2 separate regions of the Homo sapiens genome follow, and region 1 is linked to region 2. Evidence: promoter capture Hi-C in 16 types of primary human blood cells and fetal thymus (Javierre and others, 2016). All regions are on one chromosome and are shown on one strand. Each heading gives the region's core, a stretch centred on a gene start or on the middle of the fragment in contact. The rest is flanking DNA. Distances are from core to core; before and after follow the strand shown. Region 1 overlaps DYNC2I2 (dynein 2 intermediate chain 2). Region 2 holds the start of ZDHHC12 (zDHHC palmitoyltransferase 12).

Evidence for each region. The method cuts DNA at HindIII sites, captures the fragments that hold promoters and counts their contacts. A CHiCAGO score of 5 or more calls a contact.
Region 1: a contact is called between a fragment that was not itself captured here and the fragment with the promoter of ZDHHC12 in region 2, in 1 of 17 cell types (endothelial precursors). The highest score is 5.2, in endothelial precursors.

What each region holds. Positions count from the first base shown.
Region 1 is chr9:128,638,740-128,642,330 of GRCh38, forward strand. DYNC2I2 (dynein 2 intermediate chain 2) reads right to left here. Exons shown (of 9, transcript NM_052844.4): 2 at 1,952-2,200. Among named protein-coding and RNA genes, the nearest start is that of DYNC2I2, 16 kb to the right of the region's middle. RefSeq lists an enhancer at 2,119-2,723. The HindIII fragment of the contact is 4,104 bases long and covers 208-3,591 here.
Region 2 is chr9:128,722,848-128,726,709 of GRCh38, forward strand. It overlaps ZDHHC12 (zDHHC palmitoyltransferase 12), which reads right to left and starts at 1,280. Exons shown (of 5, transcript NM_032799.5): 1 at 1,147-1,280. The coding sequence starts at 1,246. It overlaps ZDHHC12-DT (ZDHHC12 divergent transcript), which reads left to right and starts at 1,615. Exons shown (of 2, transcript NR_046240.1): 1 at 1,615-1,788. RefSeq lists a silencer at 1,169-1,648. The HindIII fragment of the contact is 13,716 bases long and covers 1-3,093 here.

The DNA.
Region 1 (3,591 bases), core at 1,010-3,509, 83 kb before region 2:
CACCAATGTCCACAAGAGCATGACTCACTATAGCCAAAAAGGGGAATAGCCCAAATGTCCATTAGCTGATGAGTGGCTAAATGAATGTGGTCTGTCCATGCAACACCATGCAGCTGTAAAAAGGAACGCAGCACCAACCCAAGCCACAACACGCATGAACCTATTATTTTCAAACAAAGCTATACAATGGGCTAGGAGGTGGAAGGAAGCTTTTACAGGCCTTGTAATGTTCACTTTCTTGATCTGGATTTTGGTTCAAGGAATGTTTATACTTTGTAAAAAATCATCTCAGGAGGCTGAGGCAGGAGCATCTCTTGAGCCCATCTGAACTACAGCCTGGGCAACATAGGAAGACCCTAACTCTAAAAAAATTTTTTTGGCCAGGCGAGGTGGCTCACGCCTGTAATCACAGCACTTTGGGAGGCCAAGGCAGGCAGATCACCTGAGGTCAGGAATTCGAGACCAACCTGACCAACATGGTGAAATCCATCTCTACCAAAAATACAAAATTAGCCGGGCGTGGTGGCGGGTGCCTGTAATCCCAGCTGCTCAGGAGGCTGAGACAGGAGAATTGCTTGGACCCGGGAGGCAGAGGTTGCAGTGAGCCAAGATCATGCCACTGCACTCCATCCTGGGTGACAGAGCGAGACTCTGTCTCAAAAAAATAAAAAAAAAAGAAAAAGACAAAAGCTCCCTCATCTCAAACCCAATACTGTCTGCCCAACTGCCCATCAGCATTTACAGGGTCATGACTCTGGACTGTACTTGGAGGGCAGATGACCCAGAGCATGGCAGTGAAACCAGAGAGACTGGGGTTCAAGTTCTGGAGCTGTGTGTGTGGACCTGGATATGTCACTTAGCCTCTCTCAGCCTCATCTATAAACTGAAGATTATAATAGCACTACCTCATACAGTTTTTTTTTGTTGTTTTTTTGTCTTTTTTTGAGATGGAGTCTTGCTCTGTCACCCAGGCAGGAGTGCAGTGGCACAGTCTCAGCTCACTGCAAGCTCCGTCTCCCGGGTTAAAGTGATTCTCCTGCCTCAGCCTCCCGAGTAGCTGGAACAACAGGCGTGCACCACCACGCCTGGCTAATTTTTGTATTTTTAGTAGAGAGGAGGTTTCACTATGTTGGCCAGGCTGGTCTCGAACTGCCAACCTCAGGTGATCCACCCACCTTGGCCTCCCAAAGTGCTGGGATTACAGGCGTGAGCCACTGTGCCCAGCCTCATACAGTTGTTTTGAGGAGTGAAGAAGATACCACAGGAGACATTCTTTTTTTTTTTTTGAGACAGAGTCTCGCTCTGTTGCCCAGGCTGGAGTGCAGTGGCGTGACCTCAGCTCACTGCAAGCTCCACCTCCCGGGCTCACGCCATTCTCCTGCCTCAGCCTCCAGAGTAGCTAGGACTATAGGCACCTGCCACTACGCCCGGCTAATTTTTTTTTGTATTTTTAGTAGAGACGGGGTTTCACCGTGTTAGCCAGGATGGTCTCCATCTCCTGACATTGTGATCCGCCCGCCTCGGCCTCCCAAAGTGCTGGGATTACAGGCGTGAGCCACCACACCTGGCCAAGGAGACATTCTTAAACTGTGCCTGGCCCAAAGAAGGCCCTCACTGCACCGTACATGGGGAGGCAGGGCAGCCGGGCCACCCAGACTCTAGCCTGCCTCCACTGCTCAGCTGCTCAGTTTCACTCTGGACGTTACTTCCATATAGGGTGTCCATCTCCCTAACTGTAAAGTGGACAGAACAATACCGACCTCAAGGTCAGCAGTGAAGGCTCACTGACTTATTCTTAGGGAACCTAGCGCAGTACCAGGCAGGACATTAGAGCCTGGTGATTGCTGGCCGTGATGATGACTGGCACGGCTGTTATTTGTGGGAAGGAAAACAAGAGGAGACAGAAGTGGGGCAGGGGCTCGACCCGAGGCTGCACCAGCCCATCCCCTACCATCTGCTGCTGCTCGGTCCAGTTCACCTCGAAGCCATCAAACGCGTGGCTCTGCCAATTCTTGTTCAGCTCTCGGATGACCATGGCCTCCACTCTCCGAAGAAAGGCTGCGAGCCTGGGTATGTCATACTGGGACGGGGGCTGCACGCTGACAGGCACGGGGGCCTCCGTCTGCACCTGGGCGTCCACATGATTCCTGGCCTGGGCGGATGCACTGGCAGTGGCAATGCTGGCCGTCTGGCAACTTTTCTGGGGGGAGGGTGAAAACAAGTGTCACCACCCAGCTGTCCTCGCACAGCCCCCACCCAGCCCCCTGCCTGCCCCTCCTGCTTGACCCCCTCCTTGCTGCTGTGGGTCTCAGGCTAGGGGCCTCTCTCAGTGAGGTCTTGGTTGGAGATGGCCCCTTGATTCTCCTATGTCCCACAACCAATCAGTGCCAGCCAATCAGAGCACCGTGTCCCTACCTCAGCCACAGTGACCAATTCAGGGCTGGCCAAGTGACCAACACAGGCCAGTGAGACCCTGCCCCAAGACTTTTGGTGCAACAATTCGGAGGAGTCAGAGGGCTCCCTTTCTGAAGATGCGGAGGGCAGGCAGAACCACATCGGCTCACAGCAGCACCCTGGCAGACACATGGTCTGATGCCCATGAACACCCCAGCTTCACACCACCAGGCCCTCCCTCAACGGGCAGCCCTCCCAGCACCCGGGTAAGCAACAGCAGCTTCAGCATCCACTATGAGCTGCTAGGTGGGAGGCAGAGCACTGCCCCCAGAGGCCTTGCTCTCCACCCTGCCACCACGCCTACTATTCCTGGTCCCCTGCTTAGCTGTACCTGGCACAGGTACAAACATCAGAACAGGGCAGGAGAGGCCAGCCTCCCTTTCTTACAGACATGCCCAATCTTCACCAAACCAAGGCTCTCTGGGCGGAAGCAATCATGGTGATTGCTGCTATCTGTGAGGGGCTCTCCTCGGGTGGCTGCTCAAGGGACAATGACAAGGCCCTGGACTGCCACACTCCCTCCTTCCCATCTCATGCGGGATTCGAGCTGGGCCAGGAGGCAAGCCCGGAGGAAGAGGGCAGGACTCACCAGGACAGTTCTCTTCTGAACACACAGGCCTCAGCACTGGTACCCACCCTCACCTCCACAGGCCACTCAGTTCTCTCTGCTTGTCTGTGTCCTACTGAACCGCCAGCCCCCCAGCATAAGACTCTTGTCTGATCTTTGTATCCCCAGCACTTTGCATGGTATTTGGCACAAAGCAGATGTTCATTTATATACATACACACACACACACACACACACACACAAATGCCGGGCACGGTGGCTCACGCCTGTAATCCCAGAATTTTGGGAGGCCGAGGCGGGCGGATCACAAGATCAGGAGATCAAGACCATCCTGGCTAACACGGTGAAACCCAATCTGTACTAAAAATACAAAAAATTAGCTGGGCATAGTGGCGAGCATCTGTAGTCCCAGCTACTCGGGAGGCTGAGGCAGGAGAATGGCGTGAACCCAGGAGGCGGAGCTTGCAGTGAGCCAAGATCGTGCCACTACACTCCAGCCTGAGCGACAGAGCAAGACTCCGTCTCAAAAAAAAAAAAAAAAAAAATTAGCCGGGTGTGGTGGCGCGTGC
Region 2 (3,862 bases), core at 30-2,529:
AGGAGGAAGAAGAGAGTCGCTACAAAGGCCTGGCAGGAAGTGAGGGAGGAAGGAATGGACAGGGGGCTGCTGGGTCAAGGGAGCCAGACCTGACTGGATGTGGGAGAGAGGGAAGAGGGGTCCAGCGTCTCTGGCTCTGCAATGGTGAGAGACTGGTTAGGTCTGAAATGCCTGAGAGAGATACAGTGGGAAGGGTGCAGCTGGCAGGCTCAGATGCTGCAGAGGGGCATACGGAAGGGTCCAGCAGGCTTCAGCCCAGGGAGGTGACAGGATTTTGGGGAGGTAGGGTGCAGGGCAAGGAGTGAGGGGGCATGAGACCACCAGACAGCAGAGTGTAGACAAATCCTGTGTCCCTTGGTTGTAAGGGGGAGCAGAGAAGAAAGGGTGGGTTTTGAGGGGGGTTTTCTGATACGGAGACCTGAGCAAGTTTTTAGGCTAAAGGGTGAAGGTGGTGGAGGAGGTCTGTCTTGGGAGGAAAGCCAGAAGGGGCCCCAGTCCAGAAACTGAGGCTGGACCGCCATGGAAGGAGGGCTGGGGTCTGCTGTGGGGGACAGTGGGGGAGGCTGCCTGTGGCAGGTGAGGCGCTGGGTAGGGGGCTACTAAGAGGAATGAGGGAAATGGAGGTGGGTGGGTGGGTGAATCTGTGGGAAGATGGGAGACAGGCCGCACCCCATGGAGTGTTCTCTGGCCTGAGGGTTTGCCTGGACTTGGGCAGCTAGTGGCCATGGGGGTGTGGGGGGTGTGGGTGTGGGCAGAATGCCAATCTTTGCATCTAGTTGAGCCTCCTAATCGTATGGATAGGAAGATTTGGGGTCAGTTCCTGGGAAGGATCATGTGGGTCCCAGGATCAGGGGACATGGGGCTCAAGTCGGTCCTTGGATCTGGTGGGCACCGGCTGGGTCCTGGGATGGACAGGGCATTTGGCAATGATCAGGAAGATGCTGGGATTAATTAGGGATCAACGGGGTATCAGACAGAGAGCAGGTGGCTCTTGGAATGATAGATGGGGAGAGGGCTTCAGGAGCTGGTGGAGATCGGGCCAATCCCAGGATCTCCAGGGATTAGGCGGGAGACCCAGTGTGACCAGAACGTCTGGGGAAGTACGCGGGATCGGGTGGGTCCGGGGTCGCTCGGGGTCCGGCTCACCGGTATCGTGCAGGAAGAGCACCAGCGTGATTCCCCAGGTCAGCACGGTGTGCCCGGTCCGCACCAGGACCCCAGGGCTGAGGAGCGCCCAGGGCGCCATCGCCTCGGCCCGGGGCCCCACCCGGAAGAAGCGCCCAGAGGGGCGGGCCCTCCGAGGGAGGGGAACGCCGCCGCCCGGGGACTGGTGGATCTAGGCGTTGGGCGGGGCCGGACTGGGTCAGGGAGGCTGCCTATTGGATGGCATCTGCGGCCGAATGGACCCTCAAGCCAACAGGTGCCTGAAGAGGCTGAGGGTGGGGCCGGCGCGCGCGCAGCTGGTAACTCCCTCAACTCCAGCCCCACCCGCCAGGTAACTTTTGAAAGCGCCGGAGCGCGCGCGCACCTCCCCCGCGCTCCGCTGTGCCCTCCCCCGCGTTCCCCTGTGCCCGCCCTCGCAGCCTCGCGCATGCGCGTAGCTCCCTGGGCGCTTCGAAGATCCAGCGGCTTGCTGTGAGTCCGGGAGGCAAAATTGTACCCATTTCAAAGATGTGATGACTAAAGTCTCGAGAGGGCCAAGGCTCGCCCAAGGTTGCTCTGTGGTGACAGCTTTACCTCCTTGCTATGTATTCTCAGATATTGCAAACGGACGAGAGAAAAGTGGAGGTACGTGGTGCACATTCTGACTATGGGTGATCCAACTTAGGCGGGAGTCAGAAATCCCAGCACTGCCCCTTCCTACCTGTGTGACCCTGGGCGAGTTACTGAGCCCCTCTGAGCTGTTTTCTGTCTCTATAAGGGGGATTACAATAGTGTCTTCCTCCTAAGGTGTTTGGGAGGATTAAATAATGGAAGCGCCTTGTCTAGCACGGGACTGTCTTGCCTCTCCTGCTGTGAGCCACCACCTACAGGCGGACTTTCCTCACCGGAGGCTGCAGGCTGTCCTCCTTCCCTGTGTCCCCAGGGCCTTCTCCACTCAGCCCCGCCTTTCCACAGCACCTCCCACTGATACCAGCATCCTCCTCCGCCTCCCTCTGATTGGCCCCATCCCAGCTCCTCCAGGATACTCCTCTGACATCTGTTGTTTTTCTCAGCTCAACATCCTTTTTTTGGTTGGGGAATCGACTTCCCATCCCATGTGATTGGAGGGACTGCCCCTCACCCCATAGGATGGCGAGCGGCAGGCTGTGGGCTTTCGACTCTGCAGAACCAATCACAGGCCTTCCATGAGATTACTGTCTAGATGCTGAGAGGAAGGAGCATTCTTTTGGATCTCAAGCCTAAGGAATGGGATATAAGGCAACTGGGAGCCGTCTTTACGCTGGGCGGAGAGGGCTTACCCTGTCTGTGGCTGGAGAAAATGAGACCAACTTATAAAGACACATAGAGATGGATAAGCAGCACTAAAGGAGGGAGCAAGAGATGGTCTGAACAACATTGTCTGAGCCCTCTAGATCCGGCTGTCCCTGAAGCTGATACTGACTCTGCATCCCCTGGTTGCAAGAGTCAATGAATGCCCACCTTTTTTTTTTTTTTTTTTTTGAGACAGAGCCTCACTCTGTTGCCTAGGCTGGAGTGCAGTGGCGCGATCTGGGCTCACTGCAACCTCCACCTCCCAAGTTCAAGTGATTCTCCTGCCTCAGCCTCCCAAGTAGCTGGGGTTACAGGCACATGCCACCACGCCCAGCTAATTTTTGTATTTTTAGTAGAGACAGGGTTTCACTATGTTGTCCAGGCTGGTCTCGAATTCCTGACTTCAAGTGATCTGCCTAACTCAGCCTCTCAAAGTGCTGGGATTACAGGTGTGAGCCACCATGCCTGGCCCCAATTCCCACCTTTGACTAGCCTGAGTAGATGTTTGAGTTGGGTGTCTGTCATTTGCAGCTAAGTCTTGACTACTGCACTGGGTGCAGGATCTGATGTGCTCAGTGGGGACATCCAGCACATTATCCACTCAGCACATAATTCTGAAGCTTCCGTGGGTTAGGCACTGTGCTAGTATCAAACATCCCAACACTAGTTCAAATAGTAAGGCCAGATTTTAATTAACAATATACTACTGATAGGGCGGAGAGCCCAGTGTGAACCAACTGAAACTTCTGTTTGTGCAGAGGTGACTGATGTTTTTTGTGGTTTTGGTTTTCTGCTTTCTTGAGATGGGGTCTCGCTATGGCCTCAAACTCCTGACCTGAGGCAATCTTCCCCCTCAGCCTCCAGAGTAGCTGGGACTGCAGGCGTGCTCCACCATGTCTGGCTTAAAGGGAGAATGAGGGAGTGGAGGGAAACGGTGAGGGCTTCAGCAGAATAAGGGAAATGAAAAATTCCAAAGGGTTGGTCATGGTAAATGTGATTAGGCAGCTCCGCGTGCTCGCTGGCAATGGTGAAAGTTAGGACTCTGTTCTCCTGCAGAGACTGGGAGACAGAGGCTCTGTCCTTCCTGATATTACATTTCAATAGAATGGCCTTCAGGTCCTTGAAAAAGACACTTCTGAGTTGTAGGAGATACACACTCATCTCAAATGGACAGAGGAAGGATCACAATTGTAAGTTCCCATCCCACCACACTTTTTTTTTTTTTTTTGAGACGGAGTTTCGCTCTTGTTGCCCAGGCTGGAATGCAATGGCGGGCTCTCGGCTCACTGCAACCTCTGCCTCCCAGGTTCAAGCGATTCTCCTGCCTCAGCCTCCCAAGTAGCTGGGATTACAGGCACCCGCCACCATGCCCAGCGAATTTTGTATT